Regions from separate parts of the Homo sapiens genome. Here region 2 is linked to region 1. The links are contacts of gene promoters, found by promoter capture Hi-C in blood cells and fetal thymus (Javierre and others, 2016). All regions are on one chromosome and are shown on one strand. Each heading gives the region's core, a stretch centred on a gene start or on the middle of the fragment in contact. The rest is flanking DNA. Distances are from core to core; before and after follow the strand shown. Region 1 holds the start of CCSAP (centriole, cilia and spindle associated protein). Region 2 overlaps MIA3 (MIA SH3 domain ER export factor 3).

Region 1 (7,565 bases), core at 4,737-7,236:
TTATAGAAAGAGAAAATAAAGCATATGGAGCAGAGAAAATTATTTTTAAACAGAAAAATAGGAAATATCACTGAACTGAAAGAACCTTCCAGAATGAAAAAGGCCAGCCAAATGAATGAAAAAAGACACACACAGGCACACCACAAAATTTCAGAACACCTCCTAAAAAGATATAAAGAATCTCCTAAAAGTTTCCAACAAAACAACAAAAACAAACATAGGGGGGTCACACACACAAAGCAGGTGTCAGAATGGCATGGTCCTTCTCAACACTATGACCTGAAGCTAGGATTCAGTGTTATCATAATGCCTCAAATGCTGAGGTTTCCAATCTAGACTAATCTACCTTGCCAAAATATCAATCCTGGATATAATAAAGGCATTTTCAGATATGCAAGGTTACAAAATTTCTAATTCCCACGCAATATTTTACAGGATCTATAGAGGATGTGTTCCATCAAAAGGAAGGAACAGGCCAAGCAAAAGGAAGACTTGAGATGTGCAAGGCAGGGGATCACACAAAGGAGGGAAATAATAAAGAAAGCCCAGTTCAGCAGCTGTGCCAAGGCTGGACAGCATAAAATCTAGACTGGAACAAGATCAAAGGCTCAAAAAAAAATATATATATATATATATATACACATACATATATATATATGTATATATATATGTGTGTGTGCGTGTCTCCAAGGGAAAAAAAAAATCAGATGAATAGAATACCTAATATGTCTGACAAATGGCAAGTTTCATAGTACTATCAGGCCATTTCAGGCATTAGTGATAGCTAAAATAAATAAGAAATAAGAAACTGTGATAGGCAGTGATAGGTAGCTTATTTTTTAATAAACCTATTACTGGAGTAGAAGCAAAAAACAAAAACAAAATAAGCAAACAAAAAAGTGGAACAATTATCAATTTCAGGAAAACCATAAATTTTAACAAAAAAATGTAATCAGAATATATTACATGGCTCACCTGCAAATATCTACACAGCCATAATTCAAACACAGAACAGAGATTAAACAAAGCAATCATATAGTTAATATTGTGGGGATATGGAGAAGAGGAAATGGGTGTTGGTATGTGTCTGGGGGTAGAATAGGGAAGGCAGAGCTAAGATCCTGAGCTAAATCTTCATCTCCCATAATGGGAAGTCAGTAGATAATGTTCACAATCAAAAAGCCAACAGATAAGATTAAATAAAAAGAGGGTGGCCAATGCTGAAAGGAAAGCGAAACTGAGTGAAAGGAGCAAGGGGCATGGGTGGGAAATGGGGCAGGATCATGTTTTTTTCATTTTAAGCAAAATGTTTTAAATTACTGCACATGTAAACTTTGCTAAAAATAAAATCTAACCTAAAAAGAAAACGTGACTATGAAGTAAGGAATCGGAGACAGTCTAGACCACTCTTCATAGCATATTGGCTATGGGAGGAAAAGAATCTCACGGTTCACAAGCACTTCCACCCCCAAACCCCAACACACACACACACACACACACACACACACACACACAGAATTTCCTAACAGCTTTTTAGTATCCATCCCTTAAATAAGAATGAGAAACGAAGGATCATTAGACATTTGAGAAAAGTGCCTAACATGAAAATAGAGAATTACCAGCAAAAAGAAACAAAGAGGCAGAAGTGAAAGATTGTGCTGAAGAAACACAGAAAGAGAAGAAAACAAACGAAAAATTCTAATATATATCCTCAGTAAGATAAAACCCTACATGCATCAATCAGGAACCAGATACTGTGTTGTAAAAAGAAATAAAAAGGGACGGAAAGGAGGGAGGTAAGGGAGGGAATAAATGGCAGCCCAGAAAACAATTCAAGAGCTCTTACATTTAAAAGAAAAATAGGATCCCTCAAATGGAAAATGTAATAAGAGATTTAGAAGATACAGCTGAGAGTATCACCCAGAAAACAAAACAATAAAAGATGAAAATCTGTCAAGAAAAAACTTAGAAAATTAGAGGATAAAATGATAAAGTCTAATATCCAACTAAGGACTTCAGAAAAAAAAGAAATGGGAAAAAAAAAAAAAACAGAAATAAGAAAATAATTCCAGAAAACTTCCGGGAATTAAAAACATGAGTTTGTCTATAAAGACCTGCCAAGTGCCCAGCAAAGCAAAGGAAAACAGATCTAGATCAAGGAAAAATGTCAGAACATAAAGGCCAAAGAGAAGACCGTGAAAGCTTCCTGAGGGCAACACATTACCTACAAAAGATCAAGATCAAGAATCATAACGAGGCAGGCTGTAACATCAGCAGTCATAACACATAAGGAGGAATGCCCCCAGAGTTTCTACGGACAACTGTTCCAACCTAGAATTCCATGCCCAGCCACACTCACCAAATTGTAAGGGTAGAATAAAGCTATCTCTTGGCATTCAAAGAAAGCTAACCTCTGAACCATCCTTTCTTGGGAATCTACTAGAAGATGTGCTCCACCAAGAAGGGGTAAACCAAGAAAGAAAATGACATGAAAGGCACACGACAGAGACTCAAACCCAAGAGAGAAGCCAAGAAAGGTCCTAGGAGGATGGCCAAGGGCCCTCCCAAGATGCCAGCCAGGCAGCAGCCCACAGGAGCAGCAGCCAGCCCAGACAGAAGTAGGTCAGGGGCCCTGGGAGAGGCATCTTAAGATGACAAGAGTGATAGTGAACCTGATGTGTTGGTTGTATTGTGAAAGAAAAAAGGGAATCATGGGAAATAGTATGGGTCAGCTTTGAGTAACTTTTTCCATGGGCACAATACGGTACATACTAATTATGAATCCAACAAACTCTATGAGGACTGTATTGTGCAGGTGTGGAGATGGGCCGTGTGTGTGTGGGTGAGGAGAGCAGTAAAAAAGAATTAAAGTCAATAGATAATGTTAAAAACTGAAAAAAAACAATCACATGTCAATAAAAGCCATGTTACTTGGAGATACAGAAATAAATACCAAAGGAAAAACCAGGGTGTTATGTATGGCATAGGGCTGATGTGCTTTTGTAATAAGTCAGACAGAACTACGTGATTCTATGTGCATCTATGGCTTCAGGGAAAGTAAAAAATTTTATATTTTATAGAAACTCAAAAGAGTGCTCATTGCACTAGTATTTAAAACCATCCACTTAAAAACCAGGATATTTAATCTTGTGCAAGCAACACAGGAGTCAAGAGGGCCTTACGGGTAGGAGCAAAACAAAAGATGCTGCGATTGAGTCCTGAAAGCAGAAAACATCCTTTCTTCTTCCTGATGCCTAAACCAGAAACGTTAGCAGGGAAGAAATAACTGAGAGGACGCTATATTTAAGGAAACCAAAATAATCATGAACTCAGAGCTTACCTGAGCTGGTAAATACAGGCACCATCCATATCACAACGCTGCCTAAAAATTGTATTTATATTGCATGCAAATATTTGACAACTCCATCACAAACAATAAAAGATCGGGGAGAGAAAAGCCATTTAGCCTGATAAAGTACATCTCAATTTAGCTAGCAGATCAGTACCCACAGGAATAATCTGGAAGGCATGTTCCCTACCCCCTCCACCTTCTGTTATTTGCATTTCTAGCAGTGATCACTGAAGCATCAGGATTTGTGGGGATTCACAAGTAACATCATGATGGGAGGAGGCAGCCCTGCCTCCGATGATGAGCTGAAAATAGCTGAAGATGGTAAAACCAAGAGCAAAGCAACCCGGCTCATAGCCGAAATTTCATCTCCTCCTCAGCCTCTCACAGAGAAGCCAGGAAGAGTCTGATTGGCTTGCAATCGGGTAAACAAAAATAAACACATAAATGAATAAAGTCACTGATCCTGAGCTTCCGTTTTTTCATCTATAAAACTGAGATTAGGGCCGGGCATGGTGGCTCACTCCTGTAATCCCAACACTTTGGGAGGCCGAGGCGGGCGGATCACGAGGTGAGGAGTTTGAGACCAGCCTGACCAACATGGTGAAACCCCGTCTCCACTAAAAATACAAAAATTAGCCGGGCGTGGTGGCGCGTGCCTGTAATCCCAGCTACTCGGGAGGCTGAGGCAGGAGAATGACGTGAATCCGGGAGGCAGAGGTTGCAGTGAGCCGAGATCGCGCCACTGCGCTCCAGCCTGGGCCACAGAGCGAGACTCCGTCTCAAAAAAAAAAAAAAAAAAAGATTACAACATGGTCTCTTTTGGGATTGTTTTGAATATTAAATGACAACATACATATTCCCAGATCAGTGACTGAATGTCTAACAGGCTCCCAATACATTTTCCATGTTTTCCTCACTCGAGCCTTTTTAAAATCCAGTGATCTGGAAGGAACCATTGGTTACTCCAGGCTGTACTGAGGCGTTCAACTGGGTCCCCAGCCCTGCAAGCCTCTGGGCAGGAAAGAAGGTGAAGGGGCCATGCCTTGAAAACACGCGCAGCGCCACCGGCGCTTTCGGATCTGGACAGGCGAGGGAGGATGGGGAGGGACGGAAGGGGAGAGGCCCTAGCACTTATAAAGATGCTCTCACAGCCAAGTTATTCAACACTCCACGTAAACAAATGCAAAATATTCTTTAGGGACAGCGTAGCGAGGTCGGGGAGTTAATACGGAAAACAATGGCCCCATTCATCAGACAAAGCTTAGCTCTGTGGTTCTTAACCTTTTGGGTTACCTTTGAGAATCTGATTAAAGCTGGGGCTCCTCTGATCAAAAATGGGCGCCTAGAAATAAGCAGATGGGACTCAGTGGTTCGCCAAGAAATAAGATGGGATTCAGAGGTTTGCCAAGCCGCAGAGGCCCGCGAGGAAAGACCCCAGACTCAGCCAGCGGCGCTTCAATTGAGTTCACCGCTGGCTCGACCGAAAGCCACCTAATTAAGGAAATAAAGGGTGGCAAAGGCTGCCACCTTCCCTATTTTGTCAAGAGAGACGGATTCTGTCAACCGAAAAAAAAAAAAGGAAGAGCCAGCCCCGAGTGGCGCAAGAAATAAGAGATCAGCTGCTCAGAGCTTAGAGCAAACCGTCCCTGCGTGCAGGCCCCTCGCGCTCCCCTCCGGGCCGGGTACCTGGCAGAGCCGCGTCCTCCGCGTCCTCGGCCTCCGCGTCCCCGGCCTCCGCGTCCTGCTCCTCCGGGGCCCCGCGCGCCCGCCGTTCCGCCTCCTCCTGGGTCGCCGGCTCTACGGGCGGCGGGGGCGAGGGCGGGGCGCACCGGGGTGCGGGGCCCCCGGCGCCCGACGACTCTGACGACGCCGAGTCCTCCGAGGAGCCGGCCGGGCCCCAGTCGTCCCAGAGCCAGGGCGCGTGCGCCTGCTCCAGCAGCCGGCGGCCTAGGCGGTAGTGCAGCAGCTCGCGGTAGCACGGCCCGTACTCCTCCCAGCGCGGCTCCTGGTAGCGCTTCATGTACTCGCTCTTCACCCCGCTCCCCGGGGACATGGTGCCGTCCGCCGCCTCGAGCGCCAGCCGCTCCTCGCTGCCCGCAGCCTACGGGACCCGGTACACGACACAGAGGCCGCCCCGCCCCTCCGCCGGCCCTGCCCGCCGCGACGTTTAAACCCGGAGCCCCGCCCGGACGGGAGCAGGGGGCGGGTCCCGGCGAGGGCGGGGAGGGGGCGGGGCGGGGGCGGCCTCACCCGGCGGCCGGGACCAAGAGCAGAGGCGGGGACCGGGGCTGCTGGGGTCGAGGGGCGCGCCGCCGAGGAGGGCTGCTCAGTGGGCGGAAGGCAGGGAGGCTGCGGGCTGGGGCGAGGGGACCGCAGGAGACTGGGGCTGAGCGGGAGGAGGAGCGAGGGAGGGGAGCGGCGGGGCCCGTGATCGGGTGGTCCTGGGGTCTCCGGAGGCGTCCCCTGAGCTAGGCGTGCGGTCCCGCGGGGCTGCCTTACCTCCTTCCCGCCGCGCCCGGCCGATCCTCTGCGCCCAGGCCCGAGGCGCGCGTGGCGCAGCAGCTAAAGCGCAGCTCGCTCTCCCGCGCGCTTTCCTCCTGAGCAAGATGTCGCCGCGGCGGCCCGCGCTCCAGCTGCAGGCGGGAGGCGGTGGCGCCGCCTCAGTCCCGGAGCCTCCACGCGCGCTCCCGGCCCCCGGGCCTCCGCCCGCTCCGTGGGGGCGGCTGCTTCCGTAGAGAGCGCGAGGCGCGGGGGTGCGGGCGTGCCTGCCAGTCCGAGGGGCCCAGGCCCAGGTCCCTGGCCCACTTATTTGAGGTGCCCGTCCACCCTGGTCCCAGCAGACGCTGTCCCAGGCACGCGTCACTCTGCAGGAGTCGTCAGTTAGGGGCAAGAGATGATCCCTCCAGATATGCAGCCCCCCCAGGCTGCGGCCGGGGGCGACACTCTCTGTCCTCACTCGAAACCTACCGGTTCTTCCTCTCTGTGTTCACAACACCTGTTACTCTGGCTTTAACTCCCTTTTATATCTACACTCCCCAAATTCTTTTAGATTTTGATCAAAACCATTTCACTCGCTCAGAGATTCGTTTGCACATAAAAGCTTGACAGATTAACTTACGTTGTGCAGAAGTATACAAAGTTGTCCCATTTGTTACAGTTTCAAAAGTGGCCCCACACTCTTTTCCCTTTTTACACATAAAACCTTCACAGATCCAGTTACTTTGTGCAGAAGTATACAACGTTGCCCCATTTGTTACAGTTTCAAAAGTGGCCCCGCACTGTTTTCCCTTTTTGCTCATAAAACCTCCACAGATCCGGCTGAGCGCTGTGGCTCACGCCTGTAATCCCAGCATTTTGGGAGGCCGAGGCGGGTGGCTCACGAGGTCAGGAGATCGAGACCATCCTGGCTAACACAGTGAAACCCCATCTCTACTAAAAAAATAAAAATAAAAAGAATTAGCCCGGCGTGGTGGTGAACGGCTGTAGTCCCAGCTACTCGGGAGCCTGAGGCAGGAGAATGGCGTGAACCCGGGAGGCGGAGCTTGCAGTGAGCCTAGATTGCGCCACTGCACTCCAGCCTGGGCGACAGAGCAAGACTCCGTCTCAAAAAAAATAAAAAATAAAAAATAAAAACCTTCACAGATCCAGTTACATTGTACAGAAGAATACAACGTTGCCCCATTTGTTACAGTTTCAGAAGTGGTCCTGCACTATTTTCCCTTTCTTAAAAAAAGAGCCTTGATACAGTAGCTGCAAAAAGATTTGAAAGGAAAAAACTTTTGGAAAATCTAAATATATATATAGCAGTTAAAAAGCAAGCCCAGGCCGTGAGTAGCGCTCACGGCTTCCACGTCAGGATTCCCACGAATTCACCTACTTTCTACGTGTCCGCATCCTGCCTCCCACCACCACCGCCCACCTCATCATAGCTAAATGATTCAGAGGCGGCTACTGGCCCAAATGGGGCGGGTCAGACCGTCTGCTCTGAAAACTTGAAGTTACTAGTCCAATCATTAGCACGGGATTGTGTTAATGGCAGTTTTCTGGACGGAAACTCCAGGATACCCTGCTGCTAATGAGTCCGCGGACGCCATGATTTCTCCCCTTCCCAACTTTATTTTCTGTTCCTTGACTTACATTAGGGACATTCTAATGCACTTTCCTTTTGTTTAAGCTGGCTGGGGTTGGTTTCTGATGTTTGCAACCAAAGTAG
Region 2 (7,575 bases), core at 387-2,886, 6.7 Mb before region 1:
AGCCACGCTGTTACCCATTTGCCGTTGGCAATGGCAAGATAGTTGGTATTCTTTGCTTGCAAGCATTGCCCTGCCTGGGTTCCTCAAAACAGGTTACCTGGAGAATCATCACATCACTGATGCTTCTTCAGTACTGAGGCATGATGTTAGAAGAGCTCACGGTTGTAACATAACTTGAGAAATGGTACGTGTTCAGAGGAAACCAAATACAATAGGCATCAACAGGAGCAAGGTCTAGATGGGTCTGTGTTGTGTTGTAGAAAGTGTTTAGTAATGTGAGTATGTACGGTGCCCTTGTGTGGTTTTCAAATAGCTGTTCCACAGGGTGCATTTTGTTGGCATCTCAAATATTATTATAAATCCTCTATGATCTATTGTAAGGGGGAGCAAAAGAAACATTGCCATTTTCAATTCTGATCTTATTCCCAACCTTAAATTGTCCATCATCTTAAACCTGGCCTCACACTCAATTATATCTGAGCTACAAAGCTGACATGTTGGAAAGTAATCAGAGTTTAGCTTCAAAAAACAAGTAGCCCCTTCCAAATCTATATGCGTGTATAGCCATTTAAAGGCACGTTTTTAATGTATTTTATTGCAAATTGGCTTTTGGAAAAAATCTTATTTCTATTCGTCCTTCTTTGTCTCTGCTATTTAGATGTATTTATTGTCCATTTCATCTTACATGGGAAACTGTGTATGTGGTCAACAAAAATAAAAGTACTGCTTCAGCCAGTTTCTAGATCAAGCGTGATTGAATTACTGACCTATTCTCATAGTTTTGCTTAGTCCCAGCCAAATGAGATGTCGACTTTTGATTTTGTTTATAGAAAAATATACATAAGGGTATTCTTTCCTTTGTTTTGAAACTTAATTTTGGATACAGTCAACATTATTTACTTTCAGAAAATATTGCCTTGTGATGTAATTGAATCTATAGTAGGGTGTGATAGATATCTTTTCCCATTAATTTATCCAGACACTGTACTAAGGGAACAACTTGGCTGCAAATGAAATTGACAGTGTTTACTGCTACATAGTACTGGTTACAGTCACTTGAAGATAGACCCTTTTAGTGGTTAGTTCAAGTTAATTGACCTCTTGGGGGTTCCTGGGTACTCTAGTTCCCTATTACCCGTTCATGTAGCCATGCTTAAGTTAATCATCATCTGGGCTTGAATTTACCCATTTGCAAAAGGAAGCTTTTTATGAATATGAAACAGAAAAGATTGAGGACTAGAAGGTTAGAGAGGGAATCGAGAGTTTCACTTGGGTGAGAAAAGCCATGTGTGGTAGTTGGCACATTGCTTTTTGTTTCTCAGTATTATCCATAGAGAAAAATAGAGAAGGTTTTCCTTTCCCTTGTCTGCTTGCAGAAGGTATGATTTATAGCAGTAAAGCTCAAAGGATTTGAGATACTTTGAGCATATGAAAGAAATTCCAGAGAGTACTGGAAAAACTTGGTTGTTGTTTATAGTGGGATTCTTATATTTCCTGATAAATCAATATGCACTGTGAACACTGAATCCTGATATCTGGCTATTTTTTTTCTCTCTCTTTATATACAGTGTTAATGTACCGCGGTGAGGCTCTTGAAGATTTCACAGGCCCGGATTGTCGTTTTGTGAATTTTAAAAAAGGTGATCCTGTATATGTTTACTATAAACTGGCAAGAGGATGGCCTGAAGTTTGGGCTGGAAGTGTAAGTAAAATATCGACATACTTTATTTGCTTAATTTTTATTGGCTTCTTTAGCACTGTAGAGTTAAATGACTGCATTTTCTTGGGACCTTTGATGGAGTTAACTTGTCCTCTCTGCCTGACTGTGAAAAAAGATGGCCCTGTGTCCCCAGCAGGCCTTGGGTCTGCACAGAGTAGGGGCTCAGCAGAGCCTTCTGAAATAGAACTGATTCTGGCAAGTTCCCCTCAGGGTCAACCTCTAGGATGCTGCATACGTATTAGAGGTTGAAATGGTAAGAGCTGAAAAATACTTCATTGCTTTAAAAAGGAAGTATTCATAGGAATTAGACTTACTCCTGTAAACTATATGTGAGAGAGTGTTTCAGGCATGTAAGCTTAAAGTTGATTTTATGTGTATTTCTTTGTTTATATTATTATTTATGAAAAAGTGGCAGTCTTGGGAACAGTTCCCTAATCATCTGTGCTATTATAAGTCTGTAAAAAAGCAAAATGTTGTTTCTCGTGTGCTTTCTTGTTTGTTTGTTTTTTTTTTTTTGAGGCGGAGTCTTGCTCTGTCGCCCAGGCTGGAGTGCCGTGGCGCGATCTCGGCTCACTGCAAGCTCCGCCTCCCGGGTTCACGCCATTCTCCTGCCTCAGCCTCCCGAGTAGCTGGGGCTGCAGGTGCCTGCCACCACACGGCTAATTTTTTGTATTTTTTTAGTAGAGACGGGGTTTCACTGTGTTAGCTAGGTCTCGATCTCCTGACCTTGTGATCCACCCACCTTGACCTCCCAAAGTGCTGGGATTACAGGCGTGAGCCACCGCAACCAGCCTCTTGTTTGTATTTTTGTTTGCAGCCTTGGGGTCATCCTTGTCCTGCTTTTCAGACACTTGTGTCTGGAGGTTACCCCAGGGGATTGATTCCCAGCTGATTTTATGGGTACCCTGCTATCAGACCTGGCAATCAATGACTGCATCATGCTTTGGTATTTTTAATGAGGAGATTCACTGGGAGTGACCTGATTGAGAGGCCTGTCTTATGAGTTATTGTCCTTTCCTTTTTAGAAAGCGTGATATGTGGACTGTGTCTTTACTTCAAGTAGTAAGGGTCCTCGATATCTTTAGGATTGTCCCAACTTAGAGAAATACCCATCCCGACTATGAAAGTTTTCACTGTCAGTAAAACACCAAACAAACAAAGAGAAAATAAGGCTTGAGAAATCCCCTTGGGGAAAATAGACTGATTTTGTTGGCATTCCAGGTTCCTAGGGAGTAATCTTGGGAAACAACAACTGGTCAGGTTCAGCTCTCCTATTTAGAGAGCATCCCAAGTGACTTGCTCCATACCAAAACAAATCTATTCTATTTCCTTCAAGTCTACCTAATGAGATTTGTTGATAATCTTTACTCTTGGAAATGTTTTTCCATGTACCTAGGCTGCGTTTTTTCATAGAAAAGTTAAGTTTTTTTTTCCACTCCTCATCTTTGAGCATTTGGATGAATGAACTTGACTTAACATTTTCCTCCCACTGCAGTTTTGCTCATTCACGTCTTCATCTCTGGATGTCCTGTCAGTCTTTCTGGGTCACACCTCTCATCCTGCCTTCTTAAGGAACGCTGCCTTCAGCACCCAGCCAGAAGGGATCTTTGCTGCCTGATGATTGTTTAGGTGGCACTTTGTTTGCACTGTTCATGTGGCATTTGCTTTACTGCTTTGTATGGCAGTTAATTTGTGTACTGTCTTAGCTCACGTAAAGTGAAAGACTCTTTAATGGAAAGGCTCATGCCTTATCTGTCTTCTTTTTCAGTATTTCCTGACGAGGCAGTGGCATTTATTTATATTTGTCCTGATATTATCTTATGCAGAATTTGTTCTCTTAAGGCGATACTCTACTTTCCCTCCTACCCCCCGCCCAAATGAAATCAACAGTACCTTGGCAGAAATGATGTATGAAAGCAAAATTAGACATAAAGATTTTTTCTTGTCATGTGAGCCTATGTTTTTTTTTTTGTTTTTTTTTTGGTCAAATCATAAGAAATGAGATGCCACCTGTGGTCCCAACTGACAAAGATTAAGGAAGGTAAATGTATTGTATTTCCCTTTCCCTATATACCTCTACCTCTGATTTGTTTCCTTTTTCCAGGTTCTCCCTTAAAATAGTCTCCCCTCTAATTTGATGAACCTTATTCTTAGGAAATTAAAAACTCTGTCTTCAGCTTTCAAAATGATTCTCATTTGTTTCTTAGTTTTCATTCTGCAGTCTTTTTTGGTTTCTTAGCATTTTAGACTTGATCTGCCAATAACACAGAGTTTAATTGCCCTTATCTAATCTCCATGGCAGTATTTTACTACTAATACTGGCTTTCAGATAGTTTTCAGATCAAGAGCACTCATGAATGGAGATGTTTTATGAATTAGTGATAAGATGGCCTTTTTTTCTTTTTGTGCATTTGATTTACATGCCAGCCTCCTCCTTTAATGATTGGGAGATCTACCTCTCCTTTCAGACAGTAGCTAGTAAAAGACTGTGTGTTTCTCAAGAGGGCACATTTTACTAGTGCTGAAAATGAATGGAATTATTTTCTGTAGAGATTTTGGTTTGCATGAAATGAAAGCTTGGTGGGCAGATTAGTGTGTATTACACTGTAATTTTGTTTTGTCTCCAGTTACCTGTAATATCGTTTTGGAAAATGGCAGTATAGCACATCATATGTGCAAATACAGTTCATCCTTGGGCAACACAGGTTTGAACTGTGTGGGTCCACTTATAATGCAGATTTCTTTCAATAAATATATTGTAAAATTTTGTGGAGGTTTGCATTAATTTGTTAAAAACTCTCAGACCGCATAGCCTAGAAATACTGAAAAAATTAAGAAAAAGGTATGTTATTGACATGTAAACCATATGTAGATCCTAGTGTATTTTATTCTTTACTACCATAAAACATACACAAATCTGTATAAAAAGTTACAGTTTATCAAAACGTACACACACAAACTCAGATCTTACATGGCACCTTTTGCAGTCGAGAGAAATATAAACAAACGTAAAGATAAAATATTAAATCATAATTGCATAAATTAATTGTGCTACCTACTGTACTATAATAGTTCGTAGCCACCTCCTCTTGCTATTCTAGTGAGCTCAAGTATTGTGAGTATCCACTTAAAATGCCATGCGACGCTAATCATTTCCACGTGAGCAGTTCATCTCTCCAGTAAATTGTACAGTGAGTAAAAAGTGATCTCTTGTGGTTCTCATGTATTTTTTGTGTTTAGTGCAATACTGTAAACCTTGAATAACACTCTGGGACCCATACAAAGTGTCACTAGTGATGTTGGAAGTGGTCTCAAATAGCGGAGAAAAGTAATGACATTACAAGAAAAAGTTGATTGCTTGATATGTGCTGTAGATTGAGGTTTGCAGCTCTATCGTTCATATTTCTCATACAGAATTTGATTGATATGTGTCCCTTTTGCCCATTCTTTTGTGTAGGTTGGACGCACTTTTGGATATTTTCCAAAAGATTTAATCCAGGTAGTTCATGAATATACCAAAGAAGAGCTACAAGTTCCAACAGATGTAAGTTGTGGATTTCTGTCTTGTTCTCAGTTATAAGTTGGCTTATAAGTGACTACCTAGAAAAAAAGAAAAATTTCAAAAGAATTTAAATGAGATTTTATCATAATCTGATAGTTATCTAATATATGGAAATAGATGTTCTTATATAAGGCTATGTACTCTTTTTTTTTTTTGAGTCGGAGTCTCGCTCTGTCACCCAGGCTGGAGTGGAGTGGCGTGATCTCGGCTCACTGCACGCTCTGCTTCCTGGGTTCACGCCATTCTCCTGCCTCAGCCTCCCAAGTAGCTGGGACTATAGGCGCCCACCACCACGCCTGGCTAATTTTTTGTATTTTTAGTAGAGATGGGGTTTCATTGTGTTAGGATGGTCTCGATCTCCTGACCTCATGATCCGCCCGCCTCAGCCTCCCAAAGTGCTGGGATTACATGCGTGAGCCACTGCGCCCGGCCAAGGCCGTGTACTCTTATACAAGGCTTTTCTTTGCTGCTTTATATGTGAAAAATTAAGAGTTCAGTAGTTTTATATTTACTTATTAATGTTAGAAGGCAAAAAATTTCATTTCACAAGCAAAAGGAGAAATTTGAAAACTACTTATTGGATAGCTGTTAGACATTTTAAGGATATAGAAATCAGGTTAAATTAATTAAGCTCTAATTTTATACTGAGCCAGAAATGCAAACTTACAAAGGTTTTCTTATTATTGACTCTGTAGTGATTTAAGCGATTATAGTTATAGATTTGGAAAAGGGAACCAGAGAGTTTCAGGTGAGGTCCAGTCTCATATCTGTAAGGCGCTAACTACACATTCTGTAGAGCATTTATCTATAGTGCACAATGGCTTCGTGACTAGAAGGATTTTGTGTTCTAGAATCTGCATTCCATCTGATTATTATTTTTTTGAGACAGAGTCTCTCTCTGCCGCCCAGGCTGGAGTGCAGTGGTGCGATACCAGCTCACTGCAGCCTCCGCCTCCCAGGTTCAAGCAATTCTCCTGCCTCAGCCTCTGGAGTAGCTGGGATTACAGGCGCCTGCCACCACACCCAGCCAATTTTTTTGTGTTTTTAGTAGGAACGAGGTTTCACCGTGTTGGCCAGGCTGGTCTCAAACTCCTGACCTCAAGTGATCCATCTGCCTTGGCCTTCCAAAGTGCTAGGATTACAGGCTGCCTTTCATATATATATATAAAAAACACCATGCCCAGCCCCCCATCTGATTGTTTTGTGAGTTTTAGAATTTATAGTAATTGATGTCTGCTTTCATTCAAAAGTCTTTGAGTAGCTCTTTGGAGTTGCTGCAGAGCGTGCAAGCTGCTGGGCTAGGGCAGTTCTTAGAAGAGATTGGCAGAGTGAAGTCACAGAGCTATTGCTATGCTTAAAATTTCTCGACGCTCTCAGGGGTTATATAGTCAATCGTATTGCCTGTTTGGCTTCACTCCTGATGAAGAGACTGCCCGGGATTTGAGTGTGAGACAGCAATTCATTGGTCACAGAGACCTGACCTGTATACTAATTGTAGTTCCCACTGCATGATTCCCTTAATATTAAAAAAATTGGCTCAGAAGTGTGCATGATGGAAAGAGGGAAGTCATTCATCTCCAGTACACAGGACAGTTCTCACCAGAAGATTGTGAATGTTTAGTTAGGGGAAGAAAGTTATCTTTGTTGGTTTTTTAACTTTTCCATCATTTTATGGCTCCTTGTATGTCAATTTGCTTACTGGTGGAGGAAGGGAAAAATACAGATTTACTTGACAGTCCTGAAAGCAGATCTTAGTGACTGGCTAGAATCCTTATTTGGAGTTAGGTACCTACCTTACTGAATCTTGTTTTCAAGTTGTTCTTGTGGCAGTATGAAAATGGGGAGCCTCCTTTACACCATTCTTTGTTCTCTTACATTTTTATATCTCATGCACCTGTATCTCAGTAAGTTCCTTCTGAAGCTGATTTCTTTCCCAGTCCAAGGAAAATATGAGCCCCAAATCCATGTAGACTGAGAGCCTGACAGCCAGGTGATTCTGCCTGTTTCTGACTGGGTGAGCAGAGAAGTATGACATAGAGGGCACAATGTAGAGAAGCTGATGGTCTTTCAGCTCCTCCTGGATGGGTTATAAGGTGAATTCCCAGAACATCAGGCATAGATGATGGGAGTTGGGGAACCCAATAAATGACACCTTACTTTTCCCCACCTGTGCTCAAAACAAAATTGAGAGACCCAGGAGTTGGGCAAATAGGAGATCAAAATGACCCCATTATTTACTGATAAAGCTGTTTGGAGTATGCAGAAATAATGGGCTTTCTAACATTGCGGTCTA

What was found. Contacts are between HindIII fragments. The CHiCAGO score rates a contact against its expected background, and 5 or more counts as called.
Region 2: a contact is called between a fragment that was not itself captured here and the fragment with the promoter of CCSAP in region 1, in 1 of 17 cell types (neutrophils). The highest score is 6.7, in neutrophils.

The regions. Positions count from the first base shown.
Region 1 is chr1:229,337,061-229,344,625 of GRCh38, forward strand. It overlaps CCSAP (centriole, cilia and spindle associated protein), which reads right to left and starts at 5,987. Exons shown (of 4, transcript NM_145257.5): 1 at 5,852-5,987; 2 at 5,039-5,453. The coding sequence starts at 5,405. RefSeq lists silencers at 5,036-5,235, 5,436-6,295, 7,142-7,436. The HindIII fragment of the contact is 1,840 bases long and covers 4,611-6,450 here.
Region 2 is chr1:222,619,591-222,627,165 of GRCh38, forward strand. MIA3 (MIA SH3 domain ER export factor 3) reads left to right here. Exons shown (of 28, transcript NM_198551.4): 2 at 1,569-1,702; 3 at 5,178-5,264. Among named protein-coding and RNA genes, the nearest start is that of MIA3, 5.3 kb to the left of the region's middle. The HindIII fragment of the contact is 873 bases long and covers 1,201-2,073 here.